Regions from separate parts of the Homo sapiens genome. Here all the other regions are linked to region 2. The links are contacts of gene promoters, found by promoter capture Hi-C in blood cells and fetal thymus (Javierre and others, 2016). All regions are on one chromosome and are shown on one strand. The core of a region is centred on a gene start or on the middle of the fragment in contact, and the rest is flanking DNA. Distances in the headings are between cores, read along the strand shown. Region 1 overlaps WDFY1 (WD repeat and FYVE domain containing 1). Region 2 holds the start of XRCC5 (X-ray repair cross complementing 5). Region 3 overlaps FARSB (phenylalanyl-tRNA synthetase subunit beta).

Region 1 (4,266 bases), core at 419-2,918, 7.8 Mb after region 2:
GAAGTAGTACCATTTTCTATTAACCATTCACGAGACATTAATCCATAAAGGTTTCTAAGCAGAACCCTAAGCTGACCACCCAAACCACTAATGACCTGTGACTCCCAGGTGTAATGGCATTAAGCTTTGATATTCCACATTGGCTTAATACTCTTTGGAGTGCTGACCGTATCTAGCTTTGTCATATGCAGTTTGATTACAGTGAACTAGGTGGCTATCTGTGAATGACCCCAGGTAAATATATCCCAGAAGGTGACAAAAAAAAAGAGGATAAAATGTAAGCAGTATTTTTTTTTTTTTTTTGAGACAGGGTTTTGGTCTGTCACCCAGGCTGGAGTGCAGTGGCACGATCTCAGCTCACCTCAACCTCCGCCTACCGGGCTCAAGTGATCCTCCCGTCTCAGTCTCCCAAGTAGCTAGGATTACAGGTGCACACTACCATGCCTGGCTAATTTCTGTATTCAGTATTCTTTCTTGGTGGTTGTACATAGGCAAGCACAGTGACAAATAACCCTCCTTTCTTGTAGAGCCGTGGTTCTAAGTGTGGTCCCTGGACTAGCAGCATCAGCATCAACGTCACCTGGAAACTTGGCAGAAATGCCAACTCTCAGGCCCCACCTGACTTTCCAAATCAGAAACTCTGGGGGTGGGGTCCAGCAACCCGAATTTCAACAAGACCCCCAGGTGATTCTGATGCACATTCAAGTTAAGGAACCAGTGTTCTAGAGAGGCCAGATAAGTACATGAAGCCCGGACTGGGGTTTCTCAATATCAGCACTATTGACATTTGGGGCTCAATAATCCTTTGGTGTGGGGCATAACAGGATACTGAGATGCATCCCTACCCTCTACCTAGATGCCAGTATTAGTTACATACAGTATTAGTCCGTTTTCACACTGCTGATAAACACATGCCAGAAACTAGGTAATTATAAACAAAATGAGATTCAATGGACTCACAGTTCCATGTGGCTAGGGAAGCCTCACAATCATGGTGGAAGGCAGAAGACATGTCTTACATGGTAGCAGACAAGAGAGAAATAGGAACCAAGCCAAAGGGGTTTTCCCTTGTAAAACCATCAGATCTCCTGAGACTTACTCACTGCCACGAGAACAGTATGGGGGAAACTGCCCTCATGATTCAATTATTTCCCACTGGGTCCCTCCCACAACACATGGGAATTATGGGAGCTACAATTCAAGATAAGATTTGGGTGGGGACACAGCCAAACCATATCACCTCCCCCACATCATGACAACCAAAAATGTCTCCAGATATTACCAAATGTTCCCTGGGTGGGAAAACCACCCCTGGCCCAGAACCACTGGCCTAGATTTTACAAAAGTGGATACTAACTTCAGGAAAACCTTCATACCTTTCACTTTTCTTCTCAAAATGCTCTCAGCTAGTTCTCACTGCTTTTAGCGTTTGTAAAATGAATTCACTTCAGCTGGACCCTACTTTAAATGTAAAAAGCTACTGGCTCATGCCTGTAATCCCAGTACTTTGGGAGGCCGAGGCGGGTGGATCACGAGGTTTGGAGTTCAAGACCAGCCTGGCCAAGACGGTGAAACCCTGTCTCTACTAAAAATACAAAAGTTAGCTGGGTGTGGTGGCGGGTGCCTGTAATCCCAGCTACTCGGGAGGCTGAAGCAGGAGAATCGCTTGAACCTGGGAGGCAGAGGTTGCAGTGAGCCAAGATCATGCCACTGTGATGCATGCAGTAAATAAAGATTACAAACAGTCTCATTTGTTCAGGCCAAATTTTAGCACCAAACGAGTTTTCAGGTCCAATTTACACACACACATACACACTTCTGACGTTTAGAATGCACTAAATTTTGGAACTGCTGATAAGAGAAGGTGACTGTACCTACCTTATAGGGAGGAAGTGTGAGGATTGGATCCAATAACACATAAGGTCCAATTCTGTACTCGTAGAGAAAAGGGACTTTCAACAGGTTAGCTATTGTTATTTCTAAATTACAAATTCCGATCATATCATTTGCTTGTTTTGAACTCTTTGATGGTTCTACACTGCCTGCAAAATAAGGTCCAAATTCCTTATTTCTTTCTTTTTTTTTTTTTTGAGACAAAGTTTTGTTCTTGTTGCCCAGGCTGGAGTGCAGTGGCGTGATCTCAGCTCACTGCAACCTCCGCCTCCCAGGTTCAAGTGATTCTCCTGTCTCAGCCTCCCAAGTAGCTGGGACCACAGGTGTGTGCCACCATGCCCAGCTAATTTTTGTGGGTTTTTTTGTTTTTGTTTTTTGAGACAGAGTTTCACTCTTGTTGCACAGGCTGGAGGGCAATGGCATGATCTCGGCTCACTTCAACCTCTGCTTCCTGGGTTCAAGTGATTCTCCTGCCTCAGCCTCCCAAGTAGCTGGGATTACAGGCATGTGCCACCACGCCCAGCTAATTTTGTATTTTTAGTAGAGATGGGGTTTCTCCATGTTGGTCAGGCTGGTCTCAAACTCCTGACCTCAGGTGATCCACCCGCCTCGGCCTCCCAAAGTGCTGGAATTACAAGTGTGAGCCACTGCACCCAGCCAATTTTTGTATTTATAGTAGAGATGGGGTTTCACCATGTTGGCCAGGCTGTTCTTGAACTCCTAACCTCAGGTGATCTGCCTGCCTTGGCCTCCCAAAGTGCTGGGATTACAGTCGTGAGCCACCGCACTTGGCCCCCAAAAACTTTTTTTTTTTAATTTAAAAAACAAAACAAAACCGGACACTGGGTCCTTCTAGCTCTCAGTCTTCTCTGTTGCTATTGTCACTGCCCACCTTTTGCTCTGGTCACTTAGAAATAGCTATGGTTCTTTCCCTCTTACAATTCCCTCCTGTCCTTTCCTCCTTCCTCTGCCTGGGATGAGGGTGCATCCCTCCTTCCTTTCTAGATGCCACTCCTCTATCCATGAAGACCAGCTCAACGACCTTCTCTAGGAGGCTGTCCCCAAACCCCGGCCCCAGCCCAAAGAGCCTCCTCTTCCTGTGTCTTCCCAGCACTGGATGCTGAATACATAGGGGCCATCTCTTCACTAGACTGTTCAGCCCTTGGGAAAGAGCAACTTAGCTGTCAGCTGTCTCTCCCCCACAGGTCTAGCATGGGCCCCACACACGTGCTGGGATTACAGGCGTGAGCCACCTTGCCTGGCCAAGGTAGTGTGGCTTTTGACCCCTGTTGTGTCCTCAGGGCCTGACACTCAATAAAAAAGCTTTTTCTAAATGAATGAGTAAATGAGTGAAGAACGTGACACGTATTTATGACAATGTGAAAACAAACCACCATGGCTAACACCAAGAAAAAACCCACGCCCATGTGCTTTCATTACATCTCATGAAGTGTAGCACCTACTAAAAAGGTTGTTCTCCCTTCAAGGAAGTTGCAAGAGCCTGAACACAACAGAAACCTCAAACGCCAACCCCATCCTGGTCCAGTCATCTACCTGGGCTCTGCAATAACAGTGGTGCACGAGTGAAAAAGTGAGCAGATGCAAGCTCCCCCAGAACGTTTCAGTCCCAGAGCAGCTTAGTAATCACTTTCCAAAAACATTTATCAGCACTGCTCCTGACCAGCAATCTCAAATATTTAGCAACTTACCCAAAACGCATGATTCATGAATAAAATATTTGACCGAATAAAGGCTGCTAACTTTTTTTTTTTTTTGATACGGAGTCTGGCTCTATCGCCCAGGCTGGAGTGCAGTGGCACAATCTTGGCTCACTGCAAGCTCTGCCTCCCAGGTTCACGCCATTCTCCTGCCTCAGCTTCCCGAGTAGCTGGGACTACAGGCGCCTGCCACCACACCTGGCTAATTTTTGAATTTTTAGTAGAGACTGGGTTTCGCCGTGTTAGCCAGGATGGTCTCGACCTCCTGACCTTGTTATCCACCCGCCTCGGCCTCCCAAAGTGCTGGGATTACAGGCATGAGCCACTGCGCCTGGCCAAAGGCTAACTTTTTTTTTTTTTTTTTTTGAGACGGAGTCTCGCTCTGTCGCCCAGGCCGGACTGCGGACTGCAGTGGCGCAATCTCGGCTCACTGCAAGCTCCGCTTCCCGGGTTCACGCCATTCTCCTGCCTCAGCCTCCCCAGTAGCTGGGACTACAGGCGCCCGCCACCGCGCCCGGCTAATTTTTTGTATTTTTAGTAGAGACGGGGTTTCACCTTGTTAGCCAGGATGGTCTCGATCTCCTGACCTCATGATCCACCCGCCTCGGCCTCCCAAAGTGCTGGGATTACAGGCGTGAGCCACCGCGCCCGGCCC
Region 2 (4,179 bases), core at 1,507-4,006:
AGACTGCACACAATTTTGACACGGATAGCAACGTGACCAAGGAGTGGTTTTCTTCAGGAAACAATTCTACTAAAAAAACCCATGAAAATAAAAGTAATTTAAAATTTTCAAGACACATTAAATGCATGACTGTGGCTCTATATTGCCATTTAGTATGCGCTGTACTGTAGGAAATAAAATACCCTCTCCCTAGGGAATGTTAAACTGACTTCGAAGACAGTGAAAGCCTCCCATTATTCACTATTTCAGTGTTTCCTGGTTGTACCAAACAACAAACAAGTGAATTATTTCACCTTTTAAAAGCTACACTTTAAAAATGGGATAAAGTGGGATTCCCTCCTTCCTAAAAATGTTTCAGCCAGGCACAGGCTCACGCCTGTAATCCCAGTACTTTGGGAGGTCAAGGTGGGCGGATTACCTGAGGTCGGGAGTTCGAGACCAGCCTGACCAAGATGGAGAAACCCCATCTCTACTAAAAATACAAAATTAGCTGGGTGTGGTGGCACATGCCTGTAATCCCAGCTACTTGGGAGGCTGAAGCAGGAGAATCGCTTGAACCCGGCAGGCGGAGGTTGCCGTAAGCAGAATTCGCGCCACTACACTCCAGCCTGGGCAACAAGAGGGAAACTCTGTCTCAAAAAAAAAAAAAAAAAAAAAAGTTTCTACAGCTACTAAAAAACTTGCATTTAAAAATAGTTGATAAAAATATTCCTTATCAAAATAGTTGATAAAAATATTCCTCTGAGGCCAAGTGCAGTTGCTCACACCTGTCATCCCAGCACTTTGGGAGGCTGAAGCGGGAGGATCGCTTGATCCCAGGAGTTCAAGACCAGGCTGGGCAACATAGGAAGACCCCGCCTCCACACACACACAGAAACCCCACAAAAATTAGCTGGGCTTGGTGGCACACACCTGTGGTCCCAGCTACCTGGGAGGCTGAGGTAAGTGAATCGCTTGAGCCCAGGGGTTCCAGGGTGCAGAGAGCTATGATTGTGCTACTGGACTCCAGCCTCGGCCGAGCGACACCCTGTCTGTTTCTTTCCTTTTCTCTCTCTCTCTAGCTCTGGATCGTACAAGAAGGGAGACAAGGACCACTGACAAGATATGGTATGTGATACTAATCAGATTTGGCTTCTTTCTGTCCTGCTTCACCAGAGGCTGGACTCTCCTTGTTTCAGTTTCTCCGCTTTCCACAGATAAATCTTTTGTTTCCCGGATAGCCACTTGGCCTGTTTGCCCTTTGCTCCCATTTTTCCTTGTTTGCTTCTTTGTCTGAAAATTTATGCTGTCCTGCTGCCTCCGCTGGGCTTCGTTTCCACCTTTGCTGGAGGAGATTTAGCTGACAACCTCACAGATCTTCCCCGCCCCTTCTGCCGAGCTGATCTTTCTCTTGGAAATCTTACCCGCAGGGAAGGGCGAGTGTCCGTGCCTGCCTGCCTGCCTGCTGCAGCCCGCGCAAAGCTGAGCGGCCAGGGCGCTGCTGTTCCTTTAAAGTATTATTAAAAATAATATTTCAGCTTTTAAGTAACTCCTTGAGTTTGAATCAAAAGCTGGAAGAACCTCCTGGGCTCTATGAGCACCTCTGAATATGTCTGACTCTACATTCTAGAGGCTTCAATGTATTTATAATTTTGGCTCATAGATTCTCCACATCTTTTCAGCTTCAATTCTTGCTTTTCCCAGAAACAATTTTCAAGCAGGAGAGAATATTGATTGGACTTGATTTTCTCAGTTTGGGCAGAGGTTTGCAGACACTTTGCAGGTTGCCAGACCCTTCGTCCAGCCACCTGTCAGCTGGGGGTCATATGGTATAGAAAGCAGTCATTTCTATGCAAGGTACTGCTTGGGCCTGCCTCCCTCAAAGGGGTAGGGGATGCGGGCTGGACAAAGGGCTCGTGATCAAGTAAAGCACTGTGATGACAGCTGCTATTTCTATATCTCCCTAGACTTGTCTTCTAAATTAAACCTTGACTCCTCCCTTCCAAGCTGGAGCCACTGCTAACTACTGGGAGAGCCTTAGCAGATAAAGTCTCATGCCTCCAGGCGTTTGTGCATCCCATTTTCTCTGCAGAGTAGAATCTCCCTTCTACTTTTGTGCTCCTGGGGACGTCCTACTCTTCTTCCCCAGTTGGCTCTAAGGTTATCACATCGGTGAAGTGTTTCATTATCACTTTTTAGAAGAAACTGAGTCTTTTAGAGAAGTTAAGTGACTTTCTGCATTCATACTCATACTCAAGAAAATCTAACTCCACAATAACCAAAAATAAAAAGTAGAAAAAAACCCACAAGTGATGAGAAAAAAAAAAATCAAAAGTTATAAAAAATAAATGAAAAAATGAAATTAAAGGAAAAAAGATTTTTTAAAAAAGTAAAAAAAAGAAAAGAAATCTAACTCCAGAGCTCTGACACAAAATGCCTTAGGTGTTATTCTCAATGAGAGAAAAGGGACGTGAATCTTTAAGTGATTAAGTGAATCTTTAAGTAAATCTGTCGTACTAGCGTTTCAGGCGGCTCAAACACCACACGCTCCCGACTACGGCGGAATGGAGAGAATGTGCGCATGCTCGGCGGGAATCTGCGCATGCTCGGCGGGAATCTGCGCATGCTCGGAGAGAATCTGCGCATGCTCGGCCGGAATCTGCGCGAGCTCGGCGGGAATCTGCGCAAGCTCGGCGGGAATCTGCGCATGCTCAGAGTTCCGGGGCACGGTTTCCCCGCCCCTTTCAGGCCTAGCAGGAAACGAAGCGGCTCTTTCCGCTATCTGCCGCTTGTCCACCGGAAGCGAGTTGCGACACGGCAGGTTCCCGCCCGGAAGAAGCGACCAAAGCGCCTGAGGACCGGCAACATGGTGCGGTCGGGGAATAAGGTATAAAGAAAGCCATGGACTTGGGCTTTACCCGGACTGGGGATCCGGAGAGGGTGGTTCGGAAGCAGGAATCGTGGGATCGCGGTCAAGACAAAGAATGGGGCAAGAGAAGATCATGGTGGTGGGCTCAGTCAGGAGGGCCGGGACCGAGGGATGCGCTATGAGAAAAGCTGGAGATTTGGGGCTCCAAGACCTGAATTTGAGCCTCGCTGACTCCACCTCTTCCATTACCCACCCATCCCATCCCTCTTCTCCCTCTCTACCTGCTCTTTGTCTCACCTGCCTCCCCACCCGCCTCCCCTCTCTCTCTCTTTATCCCATTCCACTCCCTAGCCCCACTTCCTCTATTACTTCCGAGCCTGGGTTCTTAAGATCTCTATGAGAATGAAAATTAGCTGTGATAAAGCAACTATCCCACAGGGCTTGTTGTAAAACTTAAGAGAGGGACTATCTGTGACTAAAATAACTTAAACTGTAAAGCGTCGTATTATTAGCTTTATAATAACGTAGTATCCCGCATTTATTGAAAGCCCACTCTGTGAGGGACGGATCTAAACCTTTTATTCTTATCTCATTTAATCTTCACAACCCCTTGAAGTGAAAACTATTTATCCCCATTTTGCAAGTGGGAAAACCGAGGAATAAAGAACTGTGGGCTTTTCCTGGTGAAATCCGGATTTGAATCCAAGCTGTCTGGTTTCAGGGCCCTGGAGAACCCCTGTGTTGCTAGAAATCTATGACCATTGGTGTCCCAGATCAGTAACAGAAATTACAATGAATTTTAAAGTGATTTTTTTTTTTCAACATAAAAGAGTGGTAGTTGTCTCTGAAGGGTCACTAGAGGGAGATGTGGTTCCAGGGATTAATGAATTTATTCAATACAGATAAACAAGATACGAGTTTGAGCAACTGATCCCTAGTTCCCTCAACTCCTCATTGAGAAATGTTGATTAAAACGATCATGAACTTTTAATAATGCCACTCACCTCCTTTTTTCGTCCTCTTTCAGCTGCTGAAAACTTTGTAGCTCTAGTGGAGGAGCTGTTTGTTGCAGATGAACTGGAAGTAAAATTCTAACAGCCTGTATTGCTTCGGTATAGAAATGAAGAGTTGCTATGCTACCCGGTTTCTCTTTCTCAGTTTTCTTACTGCTGCCAGATAGGAACTCAGAAATATAGACCATTCTGCTTCCAGACAATAAGTTCCATATTTGAAACCCTTTGATGGCACTTACTGGATACCTAATTCATGACAAAAGTGCTTTAGTCCTCTAGAGTTTTCTGGTTTAAAAGTAGCTTTTGTGGGTGTGTATC
Region 3 (4,009 bases), core at 26-2,525, 6.5 Mb after region 2:
TCAGTTCACAGGCTGTATACTCCTTGGTCTTATTTAGAGGCTTGAATTTGATATCTGAAGGACGCTTTGCAGTATAAGTAAATGGGCCCGACAAAGTGTCCAAATCATGGGTACCAATGGCAACCAGTGCTCTTTTCCTAATTGTTGAGAGGTTGAGGGAGAAGGAGGGAGGAAAGGAAAGGAGGAGAATGAGACAGATTTGAATATTCTAAAGCCGAAATTCTAAAGATAACATAAATATAGACTACATATTTTTTTTAATTATTTCAGATACTTCCCTGAAACAGCATATTGCTACTACATGGCATCATTAGTGGCATATAATGAACAAATTCTCACAACCATTAAGAGTACTGAGAAATCACAAAACTACCTGAAATACATGATTTCAGGAGCTGAAGAAAATTCCTTGCCATTATCTTTTCCCAAATATTGTTTCTAGGATATCTTCAAAGTTAGCATTTCCTTTACCTCTTTTAACCTATTTCTTCTTGATATACTCAAGTAAACATGTTTTAATAAATTAGAACGAACTATCGAATTGTGGGTTTTTTGGCTTTTCTATGTTTTCCTAAATTTTATCACATAGCTGCATTACCTTAGTCATGGAAAAAATTTAATTTTAATTTCAACAGCTCTGAATTACAGTTCAAGTTTACTTTAATGTATAAGGAAAGTTCAAAAGGTATTCATTTCACTTGTTCTACAGTTTATCCACAAAGGATTTAAGGTAATTTTAGGAAATTACAGCAAGCAACAAAATAGGAGAGAAAGAAATAGAAGTAGGGATGTAAAACCGAGCCAGGAAATGTTAATTCTGAATTAGAATCTAAAAGCCTAAGTCTTACCAGGAAAGGACACAAGTTTGGCTTTCTAACAGTCAATTTGAAAGGAGGAACTTGGTCAAAATTTGTGTTCTTAACATTCTTTAGTTTAAAGTGTATGTGCACTAAATTAGTTTAAAATGCTTAATATTAAATTTTGGTCAACTTCTAGGACTGCAGGACTGGTGAACTACAACTTTAATAAATAGGGTTAAAAAGAATTGCTAACAGGCAATAAGGGAGTGTTACTTTACTCAATTAGTCATATGCTTACAGAAGATAATAAACCCAGAACTATCATAGGATAAAATATGCATGGTTTGATAAATGCAGGTAAATTAATAATTGACAAATGCACAGGTAAGAAAGTCTGTCTTCTTAGATATTAACATTGGTCCCTTAATCCTAAAACAGTACCTCAAAACATCACCAAAATTTCAACTTCAAATCAGCAACAAAAAAACGTAACTCCAGATGAATCAAAGACCTAAGCATTTTGAAAAGCAAAAGACAAACACACAGGCACACATACAAAAGACACCATAAAAATTATTCAAAGAAAATACAGAGGCCAGGTGAGGTGGCTCACGCCTGAAATCTCAACACTTTGGGAGGCCAAGGCAGCAAGACTGCTTGAGCCCAAGAGTTCAAGACCAGCCTGGGCAACATGGTGAGACCCCATCTCCACAAAAAATGTAAAAATTAGCTGGCTGTGGTGCCACACACTTGTGGTCTCAGCTACTTGGGAGGCTGAAGTAGGAGGATCACTTGAGCCAGGAAGGTCAAGGCTATAGTGAGCTGTGATTGCACCACTGTAGTCCAGCCTGGGCAACAAGGTGAGACTCTGTCTCAAAAAAAAAAAAAAAAAGATAAGAAAATATAGAAGAATATGCTTAGGCCGCACGCGGTGGCTCATGCCTGTAATCCCAGCACTTTGGGAGGCCGAGGCAGGTGGATCACAAGGTCAGGTGATCAAGACCATCCTGGCTAACATGGTGAAACCCCGTCTCTACTAAAAATACAAAAAATTAGCCAGATGTGGTTGGCGGGCGCCTGTAGTCCCAGCTACCCAGGAGGCTGAGGCATGAGAATGGCATGAACCCAGGAGGCAGAGCTTGGCGCACTCCAGCCTGGGCGAGAGTGCGAGACTCTATCTCAAAAAAAAAAAAAAAAAAAGAATATGCTTAAAACTGTAGAGTCAACTTCCAGGACACCACTTCTTAAGTAGGTCATAAAATCTAAAAGTCAAACAGGAAGACTGATAACTATACCCAAATTAAAAACCTTACATGTCCAAAAGAAACTAAAAGTCAAAAAACACAAAAAAAGGTTTACAACATATATACAGTAAAAAGATTAACATTCCAAATATAGTAAGATATGAAAAAACTAAAAATATTCAGAAATCAAGGTTTTATCTAACATAATGGTAAAAATTTCAAAGTCTTGCTATAATAGAGCAGCAACTGAAAGCTGAAAGAACTGAGCAGAAAACTGAACCACTGCTGAGTCTGAATCTAGCTAAGTATTCAAGTCTTTGCCTGAAAGAACAAAAACCACTCTTCAGAGAAACATAGCAAAGTCAAGACTCTTCCCTAATATGATATTCTATATGCATCAAAAGGCAATGGACATGAGAAGAAATATGGAAGACATGACTCTTACTCCAGACAAAACTAGTCCATAGAAACCAACGCTAAGATGCCCCAGATTCTGATACTGCCACATAGATTTTAAAGCTGCTACTAAAAAATGTTCAAGAATTATGGAAGAACATACACATAATAAATAGACGAGGAAATATCTGCAGAAAAGAAGGAACTATTTTTTTTAAAAGGCAGTGGATTGCAGAGATGAAAAGTAAAATAACTGAAGTAAAAGACTCACTAGGCACTTCAAGCCAAGACAGAATAACACACTAGATTTACTCTTGCCTGAAACAACCGAAGAGCAAAATATATGGAGCAATAGTTTTTATGGCAACTAACAGCAGGCAATAAAGGGCAGCAATCCCTGAGACACAGGAAACAAGTGAGGTGAGCCCTGACTATAGGGCAGGAAAGCAGGCCCAGTGGAGTCCAGGAGACTCCCTGAGAGCAAGAGACATAGCTGAGAGTTTGGGGAGGCCAAGGTGGGCAGAGTCCCAGAGAAAACCAGAGAGCTACACAGAGAGAGAACTCTGAAGATATGCAGAGGGTCCCACTGGAATACTGGTGAGCTCAGTATTGATCAGAACATGCAGCTGAGAAAACTACCCAAGGCCAGGAAAGAATTACTCAACGGAATTAGAGGAAACAGTGCTCCATGCTCACACAGACTAAAACTTCACTGCTCATGTAGCAATGGATATAGTAGGCAAAGGGTCTTGCCTCAGCAGTAGGGACTAATTAGCCTAAAAAAGAGGCTTAATCAATAAAAATAGAGGAAAAAATAAGAGAAGAATCAATGAAACCAAAAGTTCATTCTTTGAAAGATCAATAAAATGAGTGGTTCATAACTGTAACCCCAGCACTTTAGGAGGCTGAAACAGGAGGATCACTTAAAGCCTATAAGGCCAGCCTGGACAATAAAGCAAGACCCCTGTCTCTACAAAAAAATTTAAAAATTAGCCAGGTGTGGTGACTCATGCTTGTAGTCCCAGCTACTTAGGAGGCTGAGGCAGGAGGATCACTTGAGCACAGGAGTTCTGGAGTTACAATGAGATGATCATGCCACTGGACTCCAGCCTGGACAACAGAGAAAAACCCTGTCTCAAAACAAACAAACAAACAAAAAGATCAATAAAACTGATAAACCTCTAGCCACACTGATCAAAGGAAAAAAAAGAGAGAAGACAGAGGAATGAAAGAGGTGACATCACTACAGATACCACAGATATTAAAAGGATAATAAAGAAACATTATGAACAACTTTGTCAATAAATTTAATAACTTAGACAATATCGATATATCCCTTGAAATACGTAAACTTCCAAAGCTCATTAAAGAGGTTAATTAGGATTTACTGACAGAAAAGAACTCTGGCACACCAAAGTATTAGGATGTGTTCAATTCTTCCCCTTAGAAAAAGCTCATGATTTCCAGAAATACCAAATAAAACAGAGCTTAAAGTTAAATTAAGTAAGAAAATGTCTGTTTAGATTAAAATAACTTCTTAAAATAAACAGATAATAGAGCCAGAGCAGA

What was found. Contacts are between HindIII fragments. The CHiCAGO score rates a contact against its expected background, and 5 or more counts as called.
Region 1: a contact is called between a fragment that was not itself captured here and the fragment with the promoter of XRCC5 in region 2, in 1 of 17 cell types (neutrophils). The highest score is 6.0, in neutrophils.
Region 3: a fragment that was not itself captured here is called in contact with the fragment with the promoter of XRCC5 in region 2 in 1 of 17 cell types (neutrophils); the score reaches 5.9 in neutrophils.

What each region holds. Positions count from the first base shown.
Region 1 is chr2:223,938,570-223,942,835 of GRCh38, forward strand. The region is part of intron 1 of WDFY1 (WD repeat and FYVE domain containing 1); the gene reads right to left. Among named protein-coding and RNA genes, the nearest start is that of WDFY1, 4.6 kb to the right of the region's middle. The HindIII fragment of the contact is 3,092 bases long and covers 123-3,214 here.
Region 2 is chr2:216,106,592-216,110,770 of GRCh38, forward strand. It overlaps XRCC5 (X-ray repair cross complementing 5), which reads left to right and starts at 2,757. Exons shown (of 21, transcript NM_021141.4): 1 at 2,757-2,866. The coding sequence starts at 2,846. RefSeq lists an enhancer at 2,481-3,102. The HindIII fragment of the contact is 16,954 bases long and covers 1-4,179 here.
Region 3 is chr2:222,634,405-222,638,413 of GRCh38, forward strand. FARSB (phenylalanyl-tRNA synthetase subunit beta) reads right to left here. Exons shown (of 17, transcript NM_005687.5): 6 at 1-137. Among named protein-coding and RNA genes, the nearest start is that of FARSB, 20 kb to the right of the region's middle. RefSeq lists a silencer at 3,843-3,990. The HindIII fragment of the contact is 6,400 bases long and covers 1-4,009 here.